5 separate regions of the Homo sapiens genome follow, and all the other regions are linked to region 5. Evidence: promoter capture Hi-C in 16 types of primary human blood cells and fetal thymus (Javierre and others, 2016). All regions are on one chromosome and are shown on one strand. Each heading gives the region's core, a stretch centred on a gene start or on the middle of the fragment in contact. The rest is flanking DNA. Distances are from core to core; before and after follow the strand shown.

Region 1 (2,700 bases), core at 128-2,627, 380 kb after region 5:
AGGATGGTCTCGATCTCTTGATCTCGTGATCCGCCCACCTCAGCCTCCCGAAGTGCTGGGATTACAGGTGTGAGCCACCGCACCCGGCCAAGATATGAACTATTTTTTAAAAAATATTTGTATGTTTTAGAGAAGGGAGTCTTGCTGTGTTGCCCAGGTTTGAGTGCAGTGGCTATTCACAGGCACAATCTTAGCACATTGCAGCCTCTGGCCTCAAATGATCCTCCTGTCTCAGGCCCCTGAGTAGAGGGGACTATAGGTGTGTGCCACTGCATCCAGCTGCACTCTTTTAACATACCAGTTGGTTTACATATTTTCAGTGGACTCATAAATGTCATAGTTTTTTTTTAGTAGTTTTAATTTGTTTAAATCAGGATCCAAATAAGGTTCACAAATTGGAATTGATTAATATGTCTTTTAAGTCTCTGAAGTTTTCCCTTCATCTTTTTTTCTCCCTCGTAACTTATTTGTGGAAGGGATCAGGTTGTTTGTCCTATAGCGTTTCCCACTGCCAAGATTTTGAAGGTTATATTCTCCACAGTATAGTTTTACGCCTTCTTCTGTTGTTTCTATTTCCTATAAATTGGTAATTGGATCTAGAGGTTAGTTTTTTGTTTGTTTTGGCTTCGTTGTTTTGGGGTTTTTTTTGGGGCAACATTGCTTTGTAGCTAGTGTTGTGACCCCCCTTCAGGGACACACAGTGTCTGGCTGTCTCTCATTTCTCTGATTTTAGTAGCCATTGCTGATCAGTGTTTCTATTTCAGTCATTCGTTACAGACTAAAAAGAATAAACCTGTGTGCATTCTCTGGCTACCATGCCATATTTATTCTTGGACTTCCTAGCCCTTATAAATGTTCTGTGCAGTAAATAATTTTTAAATGTGTATATAAAAGTAATTGGTTTCAAGTGACCTCCCAAAGCCAGGTTCAAATAGTTGCAAGATGTTTTCTTGGATTAAAAATAAGCTTATCTCTTGTTCTAATGGATTTTCATAGCCTTGATTATTTGTGTTTTATACTTCATTAGATTGTTCTTCCGATGCATTAGAAGTAAGGCAGAGGGGAAACGCTGGTGTGGAAGTATTCCATGGCAGGTAGGAATTATTCATCTGTTTTCAAACCTGCTGTGTTAAGACTTTTAATATGCAGCATCACCTGAAAATACCTTGAAGTTCACGTAAATGAGTTGGTCTTCATCAGACTGTCTCCGAAAGATAGTTTTCTTTAAGCAAGGTAGGCCCTGTTGGGACTTTTATTCAAAGGATCATTTAGTCGTAATCAAGATTAATTATTTGCATCCTATTTCACTTAGTAAATATTTTTTGAGGTCTTAAATGTAGTCAGTATTCTTTTACTCAAGGAAAAAAATAGATTTCCTTGACTAACTCTTGTATCTTTTTATAGAGGAATTTCTACTTGATACTGGTATAAGCTAAGTATAAGCATAAGCTCCTAGTATGTTAGAACTAGGAGGAGCATCTCCTAATAGGAGAAGCCCTACAGATATTCAGTACGTGAGGAACTAGAAGTAGGGAGGTGATAAGACTTGTTTTGGCAGAGGTGTGGCTTGAACTTACGATTCTAGATTACCACAGTAAAATCCTCCTAAAGCCAAAATCAAAGCAAGTGTTTTAAGACAATGTTTAGGTTTGGGGAAAAGTTCATCTTAAGAGAATAGTTTTTTTCCTGAAAAGTATACACTGTGGCCATTGTGATTGTAAAAGCACTTTGGTTTGTCACTACTTTTCCTTGAGGCCTGGAAAAGAGTGATCATGGACAGAGAAGGAACCAAGCTTCGAAAGTATCGTGAAGAAATGAGTCCTTTGTGGGTTTGGCACGTCATCTTTTCTAGACGTGGAAATGGTACCAAGAATGTTCAGGAAATATTGGACTGCTTTTACTGTGTTTCCATTTCTTCTGCAGAATAATCCTAAGTGAATTAATGCAGGAACAGAAAACCAAATATCATATGTTCTCACGAGCAGGAGCTAAACATTGAGCACCCATAAACATGGGAACAATAGATACTGTGAACTACTGGAGAGGGGAGGAGGGCATGGGTTAAGAAACTATCTATTGGGCACTATGCTCACTGCCTGAGTGCAATATACTCATATAACAAAGCTGCATATGTACCCCCTGTATATAAAATAAAAGTTGAGATGAAAAGGAAAGGCATTCTAGATACGAAGTTTGTATTAATATTTTATATGAAGATTAATTATTTTGTCTTTAGGATCCTGATTCCAAAGAACATTCTGTATCCAATAAGTCTCAGCATGCATCTGAGACATTTCATCATTCTTCCAACTGGCTGAGAAATCCATTCAAGGTACTTGACAAGAATCAAGAACCAGCTCTCTGGAAACAGCTCATCAAAGGTGAAGGTGAGGAAAAGAAGGCTGATAAGAAGCAAAGAGAAAAGGGAGATCAGCTTTTCGATCAAAAGAAAGAACAGAAGCCTGAAATGATGGAGAAAGACCTCTCATCTGGCCTGGTACCAAAGAAAAAACAATCTGTAGTTCAAGAGAAGAAGCAAGAAGAGGGAGCAGAGATTCAGTGTGAGGCAGAGACTGGAGGCACACACAAAAGAGACTTTTCTGAAATTAAATCTCAACAGTGCCAAGGTAATGAGCTTACAAGACCATCTGCATCTTCTCAGGAGAAATCAAGTGGTAAGAGTCAAGATGTCCAAAGAGA
Region 2 (2,700 bases), core at 110-2,609, 410 kb after region 5:
GCTACTGAGATTTCTGTGTTGTTTACATAGCAGTTTGTACCCTAAACAAACACTTGAGATTTTATACTTCAGGAAACTATTCAGATTTCCTTCTCATTAGCAATTGTTCCAAAAACACTTACTCTGCTAATTTCTGCTAGAAAGAATCACAGTTCTTCTAACACAGAAACATTTCTGTCCCTTGAGTTGGGAAACAAGACCCTATGTTAACCCAGTCAGAGTGTGGACTGAGGCATTCGGAGCCTATTTAAGCAGAAGTTTTCTATAAGGACAAGATTTAAAGGCTTACAAAGGTAAAGACAATGGCCTGGTGGGAAGAATTCTAGTCTAGAACGTTTGAGATTTGACTCTAGTTCTAGGTTCATCTTAGCTGGGTGTGTAACGTTGAAAAAATTGGCCGGGTGCAGTGGCTCAGGCCTGTCATCCCAGCACTTTGGGAGGCCGAGGCAGACGGATCACGAGGTCAAGAGATCAAGACCATCTTGGCCAACATGGTGAAACCCCGTCTCTACTAAAAATACAAAAATTAGCTGAGCGTGGTGGCGTGCGCCTGTAGTCCCAGCTACTGGGGAGGATAAGGCAGGAGAATCGCTTGAACCTGGGAGGTGGAGGTTGCAGTGAGCTGAGATCGCGCCATTGCACTCCAGCCTGGTGACAGAGCGAGACTCCGTCTCAAAAAAAAAAAAAAAAAAAAAGAGAGAGAAAAAAATCCTTACTTTCTCTACACTCTGATTTCCTCATTTGTAAGGTGGGCAGTTTTCAGAACTTAGCAGCAATAAGGTTTCTGATAAAATCAAGAAGCAAAGGAAGTAACATTGCCTTTTTGAAGTTTTGCTATAAGATTGACATACCAAGGTAAAGATTGAGTCACCTGAGAAGCAGTGGCTCCCAGGCCAGCAAGAATGTACAAACCTGGCTCTGCCATTTGCTGATTGATATTAGGCAAGTTGCAGATTCCTTGGACATCTCAATCCTTTCATCTGTAAAATGTGTGGATTAGCATGTATCTCATGCTCCACTGGGAATTTCATAGCAAATATATATACTACAACATGGTTGACCAGATAGATCAGTAATGTCAACTAGAAGGTATTAGATGAACATTGTCAGTCTCCAATCAAGCATTGTTTAGGGGAGAGGAATTCTTTCAGGTTCAAGCATTCTGGCTTTTAGTTTGGAGAGGGATGCAGGGATTGTAACTTAAAATCTTCAGATATTGAGGCCATTGACAAGTAATCTACTGTAAGGTAGATGCCTCCTGGTATTTTAAAACAGCTTTTCTAATTTCTCATGTTATTGTACATAAGCAAAGCAACCTAGTTATGTCTTGGGTAGGTGTTCTTATAGCCGTGAGATGCTACTGACTTGAGGTGGATGCAGAAAAAAATGGAACCACTGCCTTAATGGGATGGAATATACTAAACATGCATTCTTAAATCCTAGTGCTGGGATGGATTACATGAATTACATTGTGGAGCTGCATATGTGTCTCCCCTCTTCCCTCCCTGGGGGTTAGGCTGGGTTTGTTTGGTTTTTTTTGTTTTGTCCTCATGAGGCTTAGCATCTAAGGGAGACAGGCATGAATTAACAGAAGTGGCATTCTGGTATCTGTCTCAGCCTCATATTCATTTTAGTGTAAATCAGTTTCGTCAAGTCTAGGTATGACAAGGTGGGTCTTTGCACCTTCTAGCGATGGGCAGCATCCCACAACACAGTGGTCTAATTGAGGTGCTGCACTATGAGTCCTGCCTGTGTTAACCAGCCTTCCTTCATGTCACAATACTGCTGCTGGATTTGCTTTTTACATCTGCCTATTGCACCTGACTTGGGCATGGATGATATGAGGTAATAAATGCTTTGAAAACCATGAAGGGCCACACAAGTGCTAGTGTTATTGCTGTGGGACAAGGTCTGGGAATATGAGAACCAGCAGCAGCATGGGTGCAGCTGAGAACCAGATGGTGAACATCTGTCTCCAAAGTGCAACATTCCTGAGCACCGGATTTATAAGGCATTTCTTACTCGACAGAATTGACTTCATGGAAGGTATGTAGTTTGACTTTGCCTTAGCCATGTTGATCAAATAGGAGTATTGTGCATGCCGCAGCTAGACAGAGTCCTGGGCCCTTTAAAAACCTTGTCAGTGACTCCCATTGCAGGCCCAGCGCAGTGGTTCACACCTGTAATCCCAGCATTTGGGAGGCTGAGGCAGGCAGATCACTTGAGGCCAAGAGTTCGAGACCAGACTGGCCAACATGGCAAAACCTCCTCTCTACTAAAAATACAAAAGTTAGCCAGGCGTGATGTTGGGTGCCTGTAATTGCAGCTACTCGGGAGGCTGAGGCAGGAGAATCACTTGAATCCAGGAGGCGGAGGTTACAGTGAGCTGAGATCATACCACTGCACTCCAGCCTGGGCCACAGAGAAAGAACGGTGATTCTTTCTAGCAGAAATTAGCAGAGTAAGTGTTTTTGGAACAATTGCTAATGAAAAGAAGGAAAAACAGAAAAAAAAAATTTTCTGTTTATGGGAGGTGACTTATTTCTCTATCAATCCTGTGAGTGATTTAGCATGGCAATTCATGAACACTGAGTTGTTTCCTTGCTCTGATTGTCTGTTGCTCAATGAAATGGCTTTTAGCAGGGCTCAAAGGTGAAGCCAGATTCTCCTGCACTAATAGGATAAGCATGGAGACACCAG
Region 3 (2,700 bases), core at 101-2,600, 340 kb after region 5:
GAATCAGAGGGAGCATTCACTGAGTGCTTATTGGTTCTACGCACTGTTAGGTGTTCCTTTGTGTCTTACCTCATCCACCTCTCGCATCCCCCCTTGGAACAAGATAGCATCATTACCCTACATCTCTTGAAGGTTCAGGTCCCTGGGCTGCAAGGAGATAAGAGGCTCCCTCACACAGCCTCTGGAGGGCTAAATGAGATCCTACAGCAATGCCCTGGTGGGGCTTCTCTCTCCCTCTTATGTCACTTGTCACACCTGCTCTAGGTAATCATTTTCCTCCAGATGAGAGGTGTAGGAAAGGACCTGATGCCAGCAAGGAAAAAGGAATTGGTAACATGCTCTTTGTTTACCTAAAATCTGTCCCCACAACAAGAATGTAACTTCCTTCGAGGCAGAAATTCAATTTTCTTCTCCCAGCCCACCTACAAAGGCCCACTCAAGAGCAAGTTCTGTGTAAAGGTGCTTAACTAATACAGGTTCTTTGACAAAATGATAAAACATTTGTAACCTGAGTTTGGGGCTTTTTGTTTATTGTTTGATAAGACTTTTTATTAAGTAATTGCTGAGCAAAAACTTTGTAAAAACTCATGTAACAGTACTCCAGTCAGCCCCCCAAGGCCTCGTACCCCTGCTTCCCCCTACACCTCCATATCCCCACCAAAAGGTCCATCTGGCTCCTGGTGCTCAGCCAGTGCCTTATTTTCTTTGACCTGACAGCACTGGGTGGTAGGGAAGGTATTGTCTGGAGGAGCAGGGTTGACAGTGCCACCGTTCCCTCATACGCCTGCAGGGCTGGGGTTTGGGGCAGCAGTAGGTCAAGTCTGGTTCCTCAAGGTCTCCTATTCTCAGTAGCAAAAAGCAGCCGGTGGGGGTGGGGTGTAATGGCTTAAAGCTTTCAACAGCTGTCCCCACTGGGCCTACAGTCCCCTCATCTTTGTTTCAAAAGCCGCTCAGGCCCTGTTGTAGCCAGAATTGGAAATCAATCAGTGCCACCTAAAGACTTGAGAAAACACATCTATTTATTATCTATGTGACCAACCGAGTTGCTTTAACACTCGTTAATTTGCATTTCCAAGGAGAGCAATTTAGTTTTAATTATTTGATCAGGCACACACGTCCTCTCCAAACATAATTAGTTCCTTCCTAAGGGGATTATTGGTGGCTATGAGCACTCCTACTATGGACCTACCAGTTCCTTAAACTCATGTCCCTTCATAGCCTGATTTAAAATACTCCAAATCTTTCCTTAAACATGTCAGCACATTTGTTTCTTGTCATCCAGGTAAGGGAGCATATTTTTACAAACAACAAAGCTGAAATGAAGACTTTTTTTTTTTTTTTTTTGAGATGAAGTCTCGCTCTGTCGCCCGGGCTGGAGTGCAGTGGTGTGACCTGGGCTCACTGCAAGCTCCGCCTCCCGGGTTCACGCCATCCTCCTGCCTCAGCCTCCCAAGTAGCTGGGACTACAGGCACCCGCCACCATGCCTGGCTAATTTTTTTTTGTATTTTTAGTAGAGACGGGGTTTCACCGTGTTAGCCAGGATGGTCTCGATCTCCTGACTTCATGATCCACCCGCCTCGGCCTCCCAAAGTGCTGGGATTACAGGCGTGAGCCACCACGCCCGGCAGAAGACTCTTAGAAAGTGTGATGACCCCCTGCCCCTATTTTTTAGAAACCTGTATTTTAATTCAAAGGGAAAGAGAGCAGAAGTGAGCCTGGGCAGAGAATCTTGGATGGACTCTGCTGCAGCCCTCTGTGGGAGCACTCTTCACCCCATCCCTCCTCTCTGCTCACATGGACACCTCCTTCAAGCTTCTAGCTCAAACACCTCTTCCCCTTTTGAATCCAGCACAGAGATAGCACAGAGGAGATGTAAGCAGACAGGGAGGGTCTCCTGGGAAAGCAGACATTTAACCAACTTGAGCAATCAGCTTGTTTTACAGCTTCCTGCCTTGCTGCCTGTTTCTTCCCAAGCCCCGTGTGGAATGTGGTGACCTAGTCACCTGGAACCAGCTCCTGACAGACCCCGGCAACTTCTAGATGAACCCAAGTGAACTTTCCTCATTACCATCCTGAAGTCACTACCCCAGGGGGAGCTATAGCTTCATGACCGTAACATGTGACCTGTGTGCTGGCAGGACGACTCACTGCGGCTGCGCCACTGGGACCCCTCCCCTACATGCACCAATGCACTCTCTCCCCTCTCCATCACCCCATAAAACCCTCCTGTCACTTTCCTTCAGAGACACCGCTTTGGAGAGTATTCCCAGCGCTCTCCTTGCTTGTGACAAGTAAAAAAAAAAAAAAACTCCTTTTCATCAAAACTCATGTTCTTGTGGAGAGTTATTTGTTACTCGCCAGGCAAACAAACGCTGGTTTTTTTCAGGGAACAGAGACCCTCAAATATGAAACGGTTCCGGCCAGAGCACAGCATGGGAAGTGTGAGTTCCCAGTGGGTACCTGCTGCATGTCAGGCCCTGTGCTAGGAGCAAGGGGCCCTGTGGTGACTCAGACACAGCCCCATGCCCCTGGGATGCTCACCTTGTTTGTCCTGGATGCTCTGCTTTCATTAATGGGACTTAGAGCACCTTTGATAGTCTAAGCAGCCACATGGCACTCTTTGTCCCATAGGCAACTAAAATCCTCCAAAACTAAAACACCCCCACAGTATTTTCTTCTTTTTAAATTTACAGAATAAA
Region 4 (2,700 bases), core at 122-2,621, 360 kb after region 5:
AAAAACAAATTGACATGACTATACTCATAGTACATAGTACATTGTATAATGTTTGTTACTTAACATTATACAAATGATTACTATGTCTTTTTATGTCTTTGTATTAATAACAATTAATGTCATTTTAACTTAGGTTTAAGTTCCATACAAACGTTAAAGGAAAAAGACTTTCAAGACCATTTAAAAAGAGGAAGATGATGGCTAAAAAGCACACGAAAAAGAGTGCCACATCAATAGAAAAATCAAAATTCAAACAAAAGTCAGATACCACTTCATACCTACTAAAAAAGGCACGCAATAACAAGCATTGTTGAGGACATGAAGAACTGGGAACCCTCATACGTTGCTGGTGGAAATATAAAATGGTATAGCCACTTTGGAAAGTGGTTTGGCAATTTCTTAAAAAGTTAAACAAACTAACCATATGAACTAGCAATTCCACTCACAGGTTTATCTGCCCAAGAGAAATGAGAACAAATGTTCATATAAAGACTTTAACGTTAGGCCGGGTGCGGTGGCTCATGCCTGTAATCCCAGTACTTAGGGAGGCTGAGGCAGATAGATTACCTGAGGTCAGGAGTTTGAGACCAGCTTGGCCAACATGGTGAAACCCTGTCCCTACTAAAAATATAAAAATTAGCTTACGTGGTGGCTCGAGCCTATAATCCCAGCTACTCGGGAGGCTGAGGCAGGAGAATTGCTTGAACCTGGGAGCTGGAGGTTGCAGTGAGCCAAGATCATGCCACTGCACTCCAGCTTGGGTGACAGAGCAAGACTCCATCTCAAAAACAACAACAACAAAAAACAAAAAAACAAAAACAAAAACAATAAAACAGACTTTAACATTAATGTTCATAGCAATATTATTCCTAATAATTCCAAAGGGAAAATGATCCAAATGTCCACCAACTGGTGAATGAACACAATGGAATATTACTCAGCAATAAAAAGGAGTGAAATACTGATACATGTGCAACATGGGTAAACCTCACAAGCATTATGTAAGTGAAAGAAGACAGAGGCAAGAGACTACATATTACATGACTCCATTATATGAAATGTCCAGAAAAGGCAAACTTATAAAGACAGAAAGCATATCAGAGGTTGCCTTGGGACTAGCTGGGGGTGGCAGTTGGGATTGACTGCACACAGCTTTGAGGAAAGTTTTTGAGTGATAGAAATGTTTTAAAACTGGATTCTGGTGGTGATGGCACAACTTTATAAATTTACTTAAACAATGAATTGTGGGCCAGGTGTGATGGCTCATGCCTGTAATCCCAGCACTTTGGGAGGCCGAGGCGGGTGGATCACCTGAGTTCAGGAGTTCGAGACCAGCCTGGCCAACAGGGTGAAACCCCATCTCTACTAAAAATACAAAAATTGGCCAGGCGTGGTGGCGGGCACCTGTAATCCCAGCTACTCGGGAGGCTGAGGCAGGAGAGTCACTTGAACCCAGGAGGCAGAGGTTACAGTGAGCCAAGATCATGCCACTGTACTCCAGCCTGGCAACAGAGTGAGACTCTGTCTCAAAAAAAAAAAAAAAAGAATTGTGGCCGGGCGCGATGGCTCAAGCCTGTAATCCCAGCACTTTGGGGGGTCGAGGCGAGTGGATCACCTGAGTTCAGGAGTTCAAGACCAGCCTGGACAACATGGTGAAACCCCATCTCTACTAAAAATACAAAAATTAGCTGAGCGTGGTGGCACAAGCCTATAATCCCAGCTACTCAGGAGGCTGAGGCAGGAGAATCACTTGAACCCAGGAGGCGGAGGTTGCAGTGAGCCAAGATCCTACCATTGCACTCCACTCCAGCCTGGGTAACAGACAAGACTCCAACTGAAAAAAATACCTGTACATTTACCAAAAAAAAAAAAAAAAAAAAAGAAGAAGATAAAGAGCCTGCATTGAACCACTTTTGGAATAATATTTTAAGAACAGTGAAATTTGGAATCTAGTACTGAAAAAATATTGGTATAACAAAATAATTTGTAAAGTCTCTTGGCTTTACAAATTATAACCACATTTGTTCTCACTATAGTATCATCCTGATCGAGCCTATGTCAAAGGACAAGTTGAAAACAGTCATATGTTTGAAAGGCACAAAATGAAATGAAATGAAATTGAATTACCATTATATATCTTCAAACAAAAAGAATGAAACAGAGGAGGGTGGGCCTCAGTTTGGTTTTTATGTTACTAGGCTGCTACCTAGTGGTCATTTATAAAATGGCAGGACTTGGGTTTTTGGTTTTTGTCTTGGATTTGTTGAGCCATGTCTCTACACCACAGCAAATACCTAAACACTTACCGATGTGTGGGTTAAATATCTGAATGCATTGCTGAATAATTTATGCTTTATAAAAATACTATAGGCTGGGCGCAGTGGCTCAGGCCTGTAATCCCAGCACTTTGGGAGGCCGAGGCAGGTGGATCACCTGAGGTCTCAGGAGTTCGAGACCAGCCTGGCCAACATGGCGAAACCCCATCTCTACTAAAAATACACAAAATTGCTGGGCGTGGTGGTGGGTGCCTGTAATCCCAGCTACTTGGGAGGCTGAGGCAGGAGAATTGCTTAAACCTGGGAAGTGGAGGTTGCAGTGAGCCGAGATCACGCCACTGCACTCCAGCCTGGGCGACAGAGCGAGACTCCGTCTCAAAAAAAAAAAGAAGAAGAAGAAGAAGAAAAAATACTATAGTGGCAA
Region 5 (2,700 bases), core at 108-2,607:
TTAATTTAGTTCTTCAGTAATGTCATAGAAGACCCAGTTTCTTCCAGCTCGCACCCTAGCTATCTTCATCGGGTTGCACTTTTCCTCACGGTAACTCTCCTCAGAGTGAGAAGTGAGGCACAGCTGTACTAAGCAGATCTAATCCAGATAATATGACAGTGCCTGCTTCTCTTTTTACAAAGGGGAAAACCTCTTTTAGAACCCCCGGCCCTACCTAGTAGACTTCTGCTCATGGTTTTGGTCAGAACTAAGTCATGGGTCCTTTTGAAAAATCAGTTATTAGCACAGGGAAAGAGGGAATACTATGAACAGCTTAGGGCAAACACGTGGTCATGAATAGGACATGTTGCCAAGCAGACTGAAGTTATGTTAGGAAGGGAGAAGCGCAGGGATACAGTTATATTGGATAAGCAGCCACACAGCTTGCTGCTGTGTGCATTTATTCATTTATTCATTCAACAGATATTATCTATCATATACCCAGCATTGTGCTGGAGGTTGTGGACAGTAGTGAACATGAGAGACAAGATCCCTCCCCTGCCAGACCTTCCCCTCACCCCCTGCCCTTTGAGATGGAGAGGGTGTCCAGGCCTCCCCCCTTCACCCTCTGAGGTGGGGAGGCGTCCAGGGCCTCGCATCTCAGCATGGGACTGATAGGCTTGCCCTGACCTCTCGCAGGCATGAACACTGCTGTCTGGGCCGTGGCACACATGGGCATTTGTGTGGGCACCAAAGTCTTCCTCATCTGCGAGGTAAGGCTGAGGTGAGCTCTGTGTATGTGGGGAGCAGGAGCCTCCTGGGGTGCAGGCTGGGGTCTGGTCTGTGTGGGTCACCCTGGGAGCCTTCAGATGACCCTGGTGGAGCTAAGGTTCCAGACGTTCCCGTAGGGAAAGAGACGGTGGCCATGTAAACAAATAAACAAGATCCTTGTAGAGTGCCGTAACTATCATAAGGAAATCAGCAGAGCAGTGGACAGAGTGTGAACAGGGCCTGCACTGGAGGCGGACATGGAAGGTCCTCTGAGAAGGTAACATTTGATGAAGTAGGGAGCAACAAGTCCAGTGCAGATCAAGAGAGAGGACTCCAAGCAGAGCCAACAGCAAGTGCAAAGGCCCTGAGGCAGGAATGAGGTGGCTGTGTGGCTGAAGCAAAGTCTGTGCCTAATGACTAATCAAAAGTTGCTTCTGGCACCCAGCCTGGCTCCTGCCCCAAGCTGAAAACAGATCACCAGCAACAACTCTAGCTTCCCAAGCCTCTCCTGCCTAGACATGCAGCTCCACCCAGGTCAGAGGTACAGCTGCAGGGACCACAAAACAATGGGCTTAGCTCTGTGAAGACAGGAAAAGCCACCATGGTTTTGACAAAGAACCCAGGAATGGCGTTAAAGACTTCTTTGGGCAGTGTCCAATTTATGGAGCAATTTTGTTGGCCACATCTACGGAGGTATAAAAAAGACAGACATAAGGCAAGGATGGAACTACTTTGTTTATGTGTGTTGATATCCCTTCCCCATGCTCCTGTACGCCTCATAGCTCCTGCAGCGTGGTGGGTGATCCCAGTGGCTCCTATTTCACCTGGAGGCAGGACAGTGCTGCTGCCATGTGTGGCAGCTCTGCCAGGGGCTGAGGAGGCAGAGACTGTAATTCTCAGTTTGGTGTAATAATCCCTACCACTTTTCTGCGGCTGAGTTTCTGGGTGGGCATAAGTTCACTGGCAGCCTGGGTCCCCAATCTTATTCCCCTCCAGGCCTGGTAGCTCTTCTTTCTTGCAGTGAAAACCTCTCCGAGGGTTTTAATGATCCTGTCCAGTTCTGGCCTGCCACACCCATCACAGCCTGGTCAGTCCAGAGAGCGCTGAGTCCTCCTGCTTCCTCTGTCAGCAGTGACATCAGGCATCCTCCCTAGGCTTCCTCTGGAAACTCATCCCTTTTTGTCCCTCTTCCAGGTAGCCTTTTCCCCAGAATGTTGTTACTGGATTCATTTGATATTTTGTTTTCCTTTGAAGCTTTTGTGAAACTTGCGTAGGCTCATGGAGTATCCAAATGAGGCAACATCACCATCAGTCCTCCTTCCCTGGCTCACTGCCTCAGGAAACCAACCTGGTAGGTATTTCTGAGACTCCCAGTTTCTATGGAAGTCCCTGGGGATTTCTCACTCAAATCTGCAAAGTGCTTAGTCTTCCTGGACTTTTGGCTCTAGGCAGTTTGCTTGGAAGTATTGAAGGAGAGTAGCTCCCTGACCCCCATGTGATAATATTACAGGGCCTCAGAGCAGGGTTGTTTGGCATTCTAGGGGCTGGGAGATTGGTGAGACACCCCAGATGTCTGCTTGACTTCAGGGTGGCTGATTAGGGTGGGCTGATTACAGTAGAGTCCACCACCCTACACTCGGAACCGCAGCTTCCTCTGAATTGCAACTGTGCTGCTGCCTGGGACAGATTCCTTTCTTTTTAAGGTTGAAATTTCTCTTAAGGAGTCCATATTTGGGTTTTGTCCCTAACCACCCCACCTCCCCAATTCCCTGTCCTAAGTTCTGCAGGCACCAGGGACCGCCATTGTGAACACAGGGGGGTTCTTTCCTGGAGCTCCAGAATCCAGGTAGACATCTGGGAAGTGATGGGAAAAGAGGTCATTCCATCATTTGGACAAATCTAAATCTAAATTTAGCCCCAGCCTGCTATAGAATATCAGCATGAAAGAAA

The links. Contacts are between HindIII fragments. The CHiCAGO score rates a contact against its expected background, and 5 or more counts as called.
Region 1: a contact is called between a fragment that was not itself captured here and the fragment with the promoter of LINC02868 in region 5, in 6 of 17 cell types (activated CD4 T cells, fetal thymus, naive CD8 T cells and 3 more). The highest score is 7.1, in activated CD4 T cells.
Region 2: a contact is called between a fragment that was not itself captured here and the fragment with the promoter of LINC02868 in region 5, in 1 of 17 cell types (total CD4 T cells). The highest score is 5.1, in total CD4 T cells.
Region 3: a contact is called between a fragment that was not itself captured here and the fragment with the promoter of LINC02868 in region 5, in 3 of 17 cell types (non-activated CD4 T cells, activated CD4 T cells and naive B cells). The highest score is 5.2, in non-activated CD4 T cells.
Region 4: a fragment that was not itself captured here is called in contact with the fragment with the promoter of LINC02868 in region 5 in 8 of 17 cell types (megakaryocytes, erythroblasts, M2 macrophages and 5 more); the score reaches 15.3 in megakaryocytes.

What each region holds. Positions count from the first base shown.
Region 1 is chr1:117,072,634-117,075,333 of GRCh38, forward strand. It overlaps TTF2 (transcription termination factor 2), which reads left to right. Exons shown (of 23, transcript NM_003594.4): 4 at 1,028-1,094; 5 at 2,237-2,700. Among named protein-coding and RNA genes, the nearest start is that of TTF2, 14 kb to the left of the region's middle. The HindIII fragment of the contact is 827 bases long and covers 965-1,791 here.
Region 2 is chr1:117,103,278-117,105,977 of GRCh38, forward strand. TTF2 (transcription termination factor 2) reads left to right here. Exons shown (of 23, transcript NM_003594.4): 23 at 1-2,700. Among named protein-coding and RNA genes, the nearest start is that of MIR942, 10 kb to the left of the region's middle. The HindIII fragment of the contact is 5,602 bases long and covers 1-2,700 here.
Region 3 is chr1:117,034,224-117,036,923 of GRCh38, forward strand. It overlaps CD101 (CD101 molecule), which reads left to right. Exons shown (of 10, transcript NM_001256106.3): 10 at 1,945-2,329. All of the region lies in intron 2 of CD101-AS1 (CD101 antisense RNA 1), which reads right to left. Among named protein-coding and RNA genes, the nearest start is that of CD101-AS1, 24 kb to the right of the region's middle. The HindIII fragment of the contact is 921 bases long and covers 891-1,811 here.
Region 4 is chr1:117,053,324-117,056,023 of GRCh38, forward strand. All of the region lies in intron 1 of CD101-AS1 (CD101 antisense RNA 1), which reads right to left. Among named protein-coding and RNA genes, the nearest start is that of CD101-AS1, 4.8 kb to the right of the region's middle. The HindIII fragment of the contact is 6,290 bases long and covers 1-2,700 here.
Region 5 is chr1:116,692,755-116,695,454 of GRCh38, forward strand. It overlaps LINC02868 (long intergenic non-protein coding RNA 2868), which reads left to right and starts at 1,358. Exons shown (of 4, transcript NR_149353.1): 1 at 1,358-1,443; 2 at 2,005-2,101. The HindIII fragment of the contact is 15,118 bases long and covers 1-2,002 here.